Regions from separate parts of the Homo sapiens genome. Here region 2 is linked to region 1. Evidence: promoter capture Hi-C in 16 types of primary human blood cells and fetal thymus (Javierre and others, 2016). All regions are on one chromosome and are shown on one strand. The core of a region is centred on a gene start or on the middle of the fragment in contact, and the rest is flanking DNA. Distances in the headings are between cores, read along the strand shown.

The links. Contacts are between HindIII fragments. The CHiCAGO score rates a contact against its expected background, and 5 or more counts as called.
Region 2: a contact is called between a fragment that was not itself captured here and the fragment with the promoter of CEP295 in region 1, in 1 of 17 cell types (M2 macrophages). The highest score is 5.7, in M2 macrophages.

The regions. Positions count from the first base shown.
Region 1 is chr11:93,658,091-93,664,540 of GRCh38, reverse strand. It overlaps CEP295 (centrosomal protein 295), which reads right to left and starts at 2,859. Exons shown (of 30, transcript NM_033395.2): 1 at 2,767-2,859. RefSeq lists an enhancer at 2,736-2,865 and a silencer at 3,026-3,095. The HindIII fragment of the contact is 3,556 bases long and covers 586-4,141 here.
Region 2 is chr11:93,252,692-93,259,093 of GRCh38, reverse strand. No RefSeq gene overlaps it. Among named protein-coding and RNA genes, the nearest start is that of SLC36A4, 58 kb to the right of the region's middle. The HindIII fragment of the contact is 1,308 bases long and covers 3,346-4,653 here.

The DNA.
Region 1 (6,450 bases), core at 1,610-4,109:
CCAAAAAGGACTAACTGCTGGCATTAAAAAAATCTTTTAATGCATCCTACTCATCTAATATTCACACGGCTTTGGTAATGGTAACTAAAGTACTGATTATATTTTTCATGCTATACATGAAGAAACAAGGCCTCTTGGGTTAAAGGACTTTCCCTGAGTGACAACATCTAGTGGCGGAGCCAAGGGAAGAATCTGGTTTCCTTATTCCAAATGGCTCCTAACTTTCCAACACACAAAAATATGTGGAGTGGCGAAAATTTTATTTAAGCTGTTGTTTTTTGAGAGTGAGAATTTAAAAAACAGAAAATTTAACAAAGAAGAAAAAAGAACAAGATTAATCTTCACAATGTATCTTTATTATTTTGTCTGAAGGTCTAAGAAATTCCCTCATATTTAAATAATTAAGACTAATTCCTGATGAATCTCATAGACATAATATTGCTGAATTTTTAAAAAGCCAGACACAAAAAAGTACAACAAAATTGATTTATATAAAGTTCAAGAACAAGCAGAACTAATCCATGAGAGGTAAAAATAAAGTTACCTTACTGGAAGTTACTGACTCGGAGATGGCACAAAGAAGCTTGCTGGGGTACTGAAAATTTATATATTTTGATCTGTATGATGGTTTAGACAAGTGTATACATATGTAAAAATTCCTCAAATGGTATACCTAGATTTGTGTTTTATTCTTATACTTTAAGAGGAAAAAAATCCTAATATTTCAAATTTTAGGTATCCATTACTTCATCTCAGAGGATTATTGAAAAACATATAAACATTTATTATTTTTAAGCTCCTAAAATGCGATAGAATAACTGTTTCTTCTTGTGTATAATTTTTAAATTTTTTAAACTTTTTATTTGGAAATTTCAGGCTTAGAATTCCCATTTGCCCTTTCCCCAGCTTCTCCAAATGTCAACGTCTTGTACATAACCATGGTACAATGATCAAAATCTGAATATTAACACTGACACAATATTTTTTACTAATCTACAGGCAGTATTCAATTTTTGTCAATTATCACACTAATGTCTATTTTCTGGACCAGAAGCCAATCCAAGGATATAACACATTGCATTTGTTGCTGTGTAACTGTGTGTCATCTAAAAAGCAGACGCTAAGATGGGAGTAAACCTGCAAATATTTTATTAGGAGAAATGCGTGTGTGAGGGAAAATGGGAGGGAGCTGATAAAAGTTACAAGCGCCTCAGACTTCAGTGTAAGTCTAACACTGAATGGAGGGAAGTAACAATGGGTAGACCCCTCTTAGACAGCCATGCAGTATAAGAAATGTTCAGCAAGAACCCGTGGGGAGATTCTCAGGAACAGGCCTGCCACTGTCAGTGGCTAGGAGCAGCCCATGGGAAGCATGGCCTCAGTGCAAATGGAGATTTCAGAATGCAGGAGATTAAGATATGTGAGTTACATTCTCATGTCAAAGTTGTCATGTCCCCCTTAATCTGGGACAGTTTCTCAGTCTGTCTTTTCAAGACCCTGTCATTTTTGAAAATACTGGCCAAGTACTTTGTTGAATGTCCCTCCATTTAGATTTGTCTAATCTTATGTGATTAAACTGAGGTTATGTATTTTTGGCAAGAACACCACAGAATTGATTAGGCACCTTTTCAGTGCATTGTTATCAAGAGGTAAATGATGCTGAATTTTGGTCACTTGGTTAAGATGATGTCCACCAGGTTTCTCCTCTGTAGTTACTACTTTTCCTTTATAAATATCTCATGAAGACAGAGTAGAGGCTACAGAAATATGCTTTTCATCATACTTTTGCCCATTGACGTTAGTATCCATTGATGACTGTTGTCTGAAACAACTACTGTGGTGTTTACCAAATAGTATTTTCTATTTCCATTATTCCTTCTACAATTATCAATCGGAATCCTGCTGTAAGGAAGTTTTCCCTGCTGCCCCATTTACTTGTTTATTAATTATTTATTCTTAGTAATATGGATTTTTAAATTCTACATTTTATTACTATCCAATATTGAAGATTATACTACTTATCTTGCAAGATTTCGTCCTGAGGATTAAATGGCTCCTGGTACATAGTAATCACAAAATTAACACTAAACTTGGAAGATCTGGGTTCAAGACCCAACACTGCCACTTATTAGCAGGAAGATACTGGCCAAGTCACTGAAGTCACTTTGGTTTCGTTTTCTTAAACTGTATAAAGGGAATAATAATATCTACCCCAAAAGGTTTGTTCTGACGTCTATGTGACTTAGCGTGAAGTCTTCAAATACACTCTAAGTATTAAGGACTCAAAAGTTCACCATTGTTTTAAAAGTTGAGTTTGTGACAGGATTGAATAACTGTGAGATTAAGGTGGCAGACACCAAAAGAGAGCGTGCTCTTTGCATGAAACGATCCAGGCAAGGCTCTTTTAACAGCTACCAGGTGGCAGGCCATGTCCGCGGGTGATCTGGGGGAAGCGCCCCTCCCCCGACACGGAAGCTCCGCGACAGGGGAGGCTGCGTGGGAAGCTCGCGCGACCCGACCCCAGGAGAGCGCGCAAAGCCTCTCGCACTGAGTTACCGGGTCTGGTCCGGACACTCCTTACAGCCGCCAGCCCGACCGCGGGCAGGGCCCACGGCCTGCGGAGCCTGAGAAACGCGAGCCGTACCTGCGTTCGCAACAAGGCGCCTTCCTGGGATCCCATTCCTCCGGAATACAATCCCAGCTCTTGGGCCTCGGGGAGTCATGCTCCTACGGGGCGACTGGGAAGCCAGTGCATCCCTGACTCACCTGAGAACCCGGGGCCTGGACACAGTAACCGCAGCTCAGAGCAAGCCAGCCTGGTAAGCTCCTGCCCATCAGCTGCCCAGCAGCCGTTTCTGCGCCTGCGGGAGAGCCATCGCCGAGCCGCCGTCACTTCCGTCATTCAAACCGCCCGCCAATGGCCGGACCAAACCGCGGGAATAGGCCCTGTCCCGCCTTCCTCGGGGGCCGCCGGGAAGGCTGCGCGGTGTTAAAAACCCCGCGCCCCGCGCACGCGCACAGGCACGCGCCAGCCCCAGCCTGCCTAGGGGCCCATTATTTGTCACACCTGTCAGGCTTTGACGTTTTCCCGTATGGGCCGCGCTCGGTGGCTCGCGCCTGTAATCCCAGCACTTTGGGAGGCCAAGGCGGGAGGATCACTTGAGCCCAAGAGTTCGAGGTTATGTATTTTTGGTTATGAGTTCAAGACCAAGTCCTTTTAAAAACATGGTGAAACCTCATCTTTACAAAAAATACGACAACAGCAAAAATTAGCCGTGCGTGGTGGTGGGCGCCTGTAATCCCAGCTACTCGGGAGGCTGAGGCAGGAGAATCGCTTGAACCCAGGAGGTGGAGGTTGCAGTGAGCCGAGATCCCGCCAGTACTGCACTCCAGCCTGGGCGACAGAGCCAAAGCCTGTCTAAAAAAAAAAAAAAAAAGTGCAGAGCCATGAGGGTGACTTTTGTTTTAAGGCCCCATCATGAAGATATCTTGGGATATGCATCCTTTTCTGTACTGACTACGGAATTCATTGGTACTATTATGCGCAGTTAACGTCTTATAGCTTTCATTTAAGGCCTCCAGCTCATAACAACAATGAGCCGTATGTTACCCTGTGCCTCCAGAGGTACAGCGCACGGAGAGCACCTCACGGATTTATCTGCTGTAAATAACCAATAATCAGGCGGTGAGCACAGGTTAATACCTATTGAGTATCTGTTATGTGCCGAGTACATTATGTTACTCTGGATGGATTATGATGCCTATACTAGATTTTGCAGTCTGGGTCATGGGGGTTAAACATCAGGAATCAAAGGATTAAAAATGGGGGGTGGGGATGGGAAGTTGCTGACACGATCAGATCTGGCTGCACAGTGGGGAAAAGGTCAGAGAGAGTGAAGACAGAAGGCCGTATACTACTACAGAAAGTGAAAGATAATAGCAATGAGAATGGAGAGAGGTGAGTAGATTGAATAGGAAGCCAAACATCAGGAATTGGTGGTTACCTGGTTATGGGAGGCACAAGAGGAGAAAACAAGGGTGATGCCCAAGTCCCAGATACCTAGCACCTGGGTAGATAGTGATAACATCCTCCTGGAACACACATGAAGAGAACCAGGAGGGAGAAGTAATAAGTTAAGCTTTGAATATTTTGAATTTGAGCTGTTTATGAGATATCTAGACAAAGGGATGCATTTCAGAAACTTAGGACACAAAATTAGCAGTACTTGACAAACAATTGCATGTGAGATTGAGAGAAAAGGGAAAGTGAAGTTGATTTCATAGGCCACTAGCTTGGGTAGCAGTGTTGATTCTTGATTGTAAAGGGAGAAATCAGAAATGGCAGTTAAGTGGGTAGGGTGATGAGCCAAGCTCTGTGTATATTGAACTTCATGTGCCTGTAGAACATCCAGTGATGTACTGTAAGCAGATGAATACATCGGTAGATAGCCCACAGAAAGAACTAGGCTAAGCATAAAGGGATTTCCTTGTTACATGAGTAATAACAAACGCTAGCGGAATGGATGAGATCACTTAGGGAGAATTTGCAGAGTGAGAAGAGCAATGAGCAAAGAACCAAACTCCGAGGAACACCAAAACTTAAAGGGATGGAGTAGGAGGAAGGAAGGTACAGGAAGAAATAGTGTGATTCCACCTCAGATTTACAGATCAGGATACTGAGTTACAGAGAGATTCAGCAACTTGGCCAAGGGCACATTTCAGTCAAGGGTGAACCAGGACTAGAATTCACGTTTCCTTCCCAAATATTAGGGTTCTTCTCAGCCTCTCTCCCCATTTCCTGTCACATTTATCTTGAAGAATATTTGTATTCATTTTAAACATTTTTTCAGCATCCTCCATACAGGCACGGAGATACTCTTCCATACCCGATAAAACATGTGCATATTATTTCATCCCTTGGGCTAGGTTTAGTGCCTGGACATGGGTTCCTGCACATGCTGCCCCATGGCACTTAGGAGTTCTTATTGAAATGAGCTGTTTAGAGGGCTCTCTATTGATTACACTCTAAGTTTCTTGAGAACCAGGAGTGCACTTTGTTCAGTTGCCTGGCATAAATGAACAAAGCTGAATAAATGACCAAATTACATGCTTCACTTCCTCAACCTGCATCCTTGGCAGAAATTCTACACTTGGAGATTTTGAATCGAGACTTGTTCTGTTTTTAATAGAAGGCAGTGAGGAATCAAAGCCCAAGTGGGCTTAGAGTCAGAGCATCTGGCTTAGCATTACCACAGATACTTTCTAGCCGTGGGACCTCAAATCAATGAGTCTTCATTTCTGTTTTGGCGATCAATTGCTGCCAACCGAACCACCCTGGAATGTCCAACATGGGTCACTTACTATGGCTGGCAGCTGACGTTGGCTGGCAGCTGAGAGCTCAGCTGGAACTGTTGACTGGAGTGTCCACTCATGACCAGTCCATGTAGATTGGACATCTCACTCTATTGTGGCTAGTTTGGAGAGGGAGCATCTTAAGAGTGAGCATTCGCAGAGGAATAAAGTGGAAGCTGCAAGTCCTTTAAAAGGTGAGGCAGAGAACGAGTTGTAGTAAGTTGTATCACATTTTATTGGTTAAGTAACATGGAGCCAGGCCAGATTCAAGTGAAAGGGAAATGAACTCCATCTCTCAATGGAGGCAGTGACAAAGAATTTGTAGCCATCTTAATCCACCACGTTTCTTAGTAATACTTCATGTCGCCTCTCTATAGGATGGTTGTGAGACTCAAAAGGCATGAATCATATGAGAGCACTTTGTAAACTCTAGAGGGGTATACACATACTAGGTAGTTTAGCAGTTATTTATTTTATTTTTCTGTCGAACACCTTTCTCTCCTCCTCTGGTACAGACCCAGACCTCTAGGCTACCGGGGTAGGCATGTGACCCAGACTGGACAAATCGCAGTTCTTGTTTCCATTGCCATTGTGACCAACCGAGGTACAGGTATGTTACCTAATTGGGGCAATCAGAGTCTTTCACAGGAATTGGCACTGGAGACAGCAGAGACAAATATTTTCCTCTCTGGGCTCATGTTAGGATGTAAACCTGGAGCTTTCCCAGGTGGTCCCCCACAAGCTGGTCTGAAAGAATGAGTGTGACAGCAAGGAGCGCAGAGAGAGAATTTGGATAGTGTTCAAGTCCCTGGATCTAGCCATACCTGAGGTCAATATGCCTGCCTATTCTGCAGCAAACTGGTAGCAGCCATTCAGTCTTCTACTGAAGCTGCTTTGAATGGGAATTTCTATTTTTTTGCAAATTAAAAAGGGCTGTAGATTTTTATTTAAATTCTCATAGACAAACACATCTGGACATCTTGGGAGATAGTATAGAATAATGTTTAAGATCTTGGCTGAGCACAGTGGCTCACACCTATAATCCCAGCACTTTGGAAGGCCGAGGCAGGAGGATTGCTTGAGCCCAGGAGTTTGAGA
Region 2 (6,402 bases), core at 2,750-5,249, 410 kb after region 1:
AAAAATACACATTTGCCTTTGAGTGTGACTTTGGCCATATGTCAAATGTTTGATGTATATTGTTATTATCACTATTTTCTAAGTAGTCTGTAATTACTGTTTGATTTTCCCTTTGATCTAAATTACTTAGGAGAAAGTTTTGACATTTTCAGGAAGTTGGATTCTTTTGTTTATACTTCTGTTAGTAATTTCTACCTCTATATTATGGTAATCAGAAAATATCGATGGCAAGTTTTCTGTTTATTTTTCTTTTTGGAATTTATTAAGATTTTCTTTGTGGCTCACTATATGATCAATTTCTTTAAATATTTCTGTGAGTACACAAAAAGGAAAAATGCAATATTTACATTTTCATAGGGCAGAATTCTACATACTGTATATACTTATTACATTACCACATTAATTAAATTATTTATCTTCTTTGTTTTAAGGCTTTCAAATGGATAATCCATGGGCAAACTTCAGGAGATCTGTGTGTGCCTTTTTATAGGAAGAGAGTTCATGGTTATCTCAGATTCTGAAAGGGATCTGTGACTCTCAAAATATTAAGAAACTCTGCCTGACAGAGCAAGGAGGTCTGTCAAGGAGCAGGAAAGGAAAGTTAAACTACTGAATATAGCTTAAAATTAACATTAAAAAGTATTATCAAACAAATAAAAATTATAATTATTTTATTAATATACAGGATTCCAAGATATAGTCACATTGATATTTACTATCTATCCATTCTGTAAATAGTGCTAAGTGGCCTTTGCTTATTTGACTCCAGGCCTTGGAATGGAACTCACAAGGAAGTTGGCTTTCTAAAGGATAGCAGGAAAAGGGGTCAAGCCACTTCATCCAAATCTGTCAGCTCTGGAATAAATTGGTCACATATATTCCATTTTCCCTGTAAGTTTTGCACTGAGTCCTTTGCAGTCTCCTCTCTTGTACTCTCCATGTTTTCTCTGATACTCCTCTGTTGATGCTCTGAGAAGGCAGCCCATTTTGGAAAGCTAATCATGTCCCTAAGGTGAATCAGTTCAAAGTCATGTACTTCCCTAAGAGAGACAGGACAGTAAAATGCATCAATTTTTAGGATGGGAATGATGACCACTTAAAACTGACAGGCAAATTGCAGATGTACTTGGAATGGGAAATACCAGCTGACAACGAAGTCAAGCATTTTTAAAACAATGTACATGAAGAATATAAAGCCCACATTAAGAAAATTGAAAAGCTCGTAAAAGAAATGGTGAGGGTTAAAAGGTGAACCCTCACCATTTGCTTGACAAAAGTTCCTTATGCCTAATCCTCTGAGGTATTAGAAATTCACAGAATTGACTTACCCGTTTAGGTACATAACACAGTGTTCCTATGTACATATGGCTCACAATACTTTCCGGGCCCATGAAGATGTCTTAATTTTAGTTTCTTTTAAAAGCAGAAGAAAAATGAATAATAGTGAATGTATAATAATGAATCCAGCTTGGACTATACCTGCTTTATGTCATTGCAGTTTTAAAATATAATTAATAAATTTTTTAATGAAAGAAGGGACCCATGAAGGCAAAGTGCCATGAAAGTCATAATGGGGCCCTGGGAATAATTATTGATTCAACATGGTGATTTGTCAGTACCTAAGCAGGTGCTTTGTGAAGGTTGTTTGTTGTGTGTTTATGCATGTTTTTGAGGTATTGTTTATAATAGATTATATTCTTTTAGCAGAATGGAAATCGAGACTGACAGCCTTTTCCTGTGTATGCTTCTTTCTTTCTGTTTGTTTCACTCTGGCTCTTTTTCTCCATAACTTCTTTTACTTGCTTATCTCTTGCACACGGCCCAATAGTCCCCAGCCTTCACTCAGCATCAGATCTACCACTGATGTTCAATCTTTGTGGCTTTGAGTTTAAATTCTCTCGTAAGCATTTGCTACAGCATCCTCTAGTCAGGTGTTCAACATACATCCAATTAGCTGTAGCAAAATCTTTCCCTCTCCCTAATACCCTTGCAGGCCCTGACCCTTCTGCAAGATGTGGTGGGGCAGCTGATGAAACGTCTTCTACTATGTAGCTTTAATAGGAGTCTATTACACACAGGGCAGAATACAATAATAGGAAGAATAAACTTAGCAGCAAGTAGTAGCCTTACTATAATTACATCATTATAATTTCTCATTCTCTTGATTGTCATCTTGCTGCATATGCAACATGTGGGAAACAGAAGCCTCTTCCCTGGGAAATGCCATTTGCAGAAACTATATGCAATTTAGGCATCTCTCAGTGAAGAGCCACATTACATAATCAGGCAGGACTCCTGCCTAGAGACTAAGCTATTCTCTAAAGATGAACAGATACCCTGCTGAGTCCTTTTTGCAGGATGTGTGACCTATCTGTGTAAGTATCCACATCACATACATTTCATGTCACTTCAGAATTGTAATAAGCCTTCTTCATTAATGATTATGTATTAGGAACATTTGAGTAGATGTGACTTTAATAGTAAGTTGAACTTTATTTAATTATCACATTGTCACAAGCCTTTCTACATTTGTAGAATTTTAATACTCAATAAGCACAATATTGTTTCACTATAAAGAAATATGATGGGTGTATAGCAATTTGGTATTACTAAAACATATATTCTCTATCTCAAATAAGATGAACTCTGAGAAATAAAACCCTTTATCTGTCATACTTTCAAGTTACATGTGTATCACTCCTGTTTAAATAGAAGAACAGCAAAGCTTCAGCCCTTTCTTGATCAGAAGAAAGCTTTTGAGCAAAAAATAAAAATTAATCAATGACAGTTGTTTCTTAAGATTATCTAACTAATTGAGAAATAGGAAATATTCTATTATGGATATTGTATCAGCTGGAGTTAAGTTGTAATGAACAGCATCTATTCAGCAAGTTCAAGAGAAATGAATTTATTAAAAGGTATTGTATGGTTTATTGTACCATTGGAAGGCAAAGAATTGCCCTCTAGGCTGACCTTCTAAAAACAACTTCTAAAACCAGTGTGTGGAACTGAGTCAAAGGAGCGGTTGCTTCTGCAATGGTCAAGAGACTGAAGATTCAGGAAGCTGATATGCCAACCATCTGCTCCTGAGCCACACTGTCTCTTTGCCAATGCTACTGTCCACACCAGCAAAATGGTGTGACATCCTGTCCCTCTTCCCATGCTGCTTAGTTCTAAATCAAAGTGTCATTTGATTACACCTGGGGCAACATTAGCTGCAAGGAGTCTGAGAAGTATAGTTTTTAGCTTTCTGGCCTCTGCCTGCTAAAAGGGAGCCAGGATAGGGCCGAATGAGTTAATTTAGAGTATTTACCATGGATATGTAACTGGATAATACTGAAAGCTTGAGTAACGTTAAAATCAGATATGGTTATTTTGCTGCGTTTAATTTTTTTTGCCCTTTCAGGACAGGAATTACATTAAGTATAGTCTTTGGTTAATAAAATTCTTGTACCATTGATTGACATATGGCCACCAAATTAATTAATTAATAATATAATAAACATCATGGACCACCCATCACTAAAATAAAAGTTAGGTCCTTGACAATAACCTATAGCTAATACAACTTCCCCATATATCCACTGCCCTAGGAAACATCACCCTGAATTTTTTTTTAGGAAAGAAGAGATAACAAAATTTATTATTTTTTTTCCAAAGGAAATTGCTTTATTTTTTATTTCAATTGGTTTTTGGGGAGCAGGTGAATATGTTCTTTAGTGGTAATTTCTGAGATTTTGGTGCACCCATCACCTAAGCAGTATACACTGTACCCAATGTGTAGTCTCTTATCCCTCACCTTCTCCCACCCTTTCCCCAGAGTTCCCAAGGTCCATTGTATCATTTTTATGTCTTTGCATCCTCATAGCTTAGCTCCCACTTAAGTGAGAACATACAATGTTTGGTTTTCCATTACTGAGTAACTTCACTTAGAATAATGGTCTCCAATTCCATTCAGGTTGCTGTGAATGTCATTATTTCATTCCTTTTTATGTCTGCGTAGTATTCCATGGTGTGTATATGTATACCACAATTTCTTTATCCACTCGTCAATTAATGATGGGCATTTGGGCTGGTTCCACATTTTTGCAATTGCGAATTGTGCTGCTATGAACATGTGTGTGCAAGTATCTTTTTCGTATAATGACTTCTTTTCCTCTGGGTAGATACCTAGTAATGGGATTGCTGGATCAAATGGTAGATTTTAGTTCTTTAAGGAATTTCCGCACTATATTCCATAGTGGTTGTATTAGTTTACATTCCCATCAGCAGTGTAAAAGTGTTCCCTTTTCACCACATCCATACCAACATGTAAAATTTTTTTATTTTTTTGATTATGGCCATTCTTGCAGGAGTAACGTGATATTGCATTGTGGTTTTGATTTGCATTTCCCTGATCATTAGTGATGTTGAGCATTCTTTCCTATGTTTGTTGGCCATTTGTATATCTTCTTTTGAGAATTGCCTGTTCATGTCCTTAGCTCACTTTTTGATGGGATTGTTTATTTGTTTTTTTTTCTTGCTGATTTGTTTGAGTTCCGTGTAGATTCTGTTTATTAGTCCATTGTCAGATGTATAGACAGCAAAGATTTTCTCCCACTCTGTGGGTTGTCTGTTTACTCTGCTAATTTTTTATTTTGCCATGCATAAGCTTTTTAGTTTAATCAAGTCCCATCTATTTATCTTTGTTTTTGTTGCATTTGCTTTCGAGTTCTTGGTCATAAAAATCTTTGCCTATGCCAATGTCTAGAAGGGTTTTTCCAATGTTATCTTCTAGAAATTTTATGGTTTCAGGTCTTAGATTTAAGTCCTTTATCCATCTTGAGTTGATTTTCATATAAGGTGAGAGATGAGGATCCAGTTTCATTCTTCTCCACGTGGCTTACCAATTATTCCAGCACCATTTGTTGAACAGGGTGTCCTTTCCCACTTTATATTTTCGTTTGCTTTGTTGAAGATCAGTTGGCTGTAAGTATTTGGCTTTATTTCTGCGTTCTCTATTGTGTTCCATTGGTCTAGGTGCCTATTTTTATACTAGTACCATGCTGTTTTGGTGACTATAGTCTTATGATATAGTTTGAAGTTTGGTAATGTGATGTCTCCAGATTTGTTCTTTTTGCTTAGTCTTGCTTTGGCTATGCAGGCTCTGTTTTGGTTCCAGATGAATTTTAGGATTGTTTCTTCTAGTTCTGTGAAGAATGATGGCATCACCCTGAATTTCATGTTTTATTGCATCTCTAAGTATTCTTACAGACTATTTATTTTAGTTAATCTCTACCATCATAAAGATGAAAGAATAAAGTGTATAATCGTTTGGTGCTTACTTTTCAGTGAATATTATAATGCTAGATTCATCCATATTTTTTGCATTTCATTGTAGTTTCATTCAGTCCAACTGCTATATTCTGTTGCTGAATATAACAATGTTCTATTATATGAATATTCATCTATTTTTCTCTTAATGGACACCTGTACTGCTTCAAAGTTTCAATATGTGAACAATGCTGCTATATGAATATTCTTTCATATTGTCAGCCTAAATAACAAACAAGAAGAGGCTCTCTAAAAGAAAATATGTTTGTTTGGGAATATAGTATTGCAATGGGAATACGTATGTCATAGTGAACAATGTGTATATTCAGGGAGGTAAAGGAAGACAAAGGTTTTTAAAGGGAAAAAATGAGGAAGATTACATAACTGTTTTGAAATAATTATTCTTAGCTACAAAGATTAATAGCAAGACTGACATCAGTCCAAGGTTGAATAAGCCATTGCCAGGCAGATGTCCTTGCAGAAGTATTTTTGATCTAAGATTGCAATGGCTTTTGTGCAATGCTGTAGTTTTTGTGGAGTCTTTTTCATTGTTAGGCATACAATCATGAGAATCTTCTCTTCATGGCCTTCTCTGGCTATATGTGTCAGAGTTTTCTTAACATTAGTGACTACACTTTGATTCTGATAACTTTCACAATATATACTAGAGTTTGTAAAGGAGTGTTTACCAAAGATGAAATTGCTGGCTAATGGGATTTTTTTAGTTAGGATCAGAGTTCTGCACATTTAAGATACTCAAAAATACATAATCTTTAGCCAAGTCAGGTTTAAAAGTAGTAAACTAACATAATAATTAAAAAATATAAAGTAGAACAGCCATACTAATTTACATTCCCACAAACAGTGTGTGAGCATTCTCCTTTCTCCACATCCTTGCCAGCATTTTCTGTCTTTTTGGTAATAGCTATTTTAACTGTATCTCACTATGGTTTTGATTTGCATTTCCCTGATGATTAGGCTGAATGGATAAAAAATGCTATATATACACAATAAAATATTATTAAGTCATAAAATGAATGAAATCCTATCATTTGCAGCAACATGGATGAAACTGGAAGACATTATGTT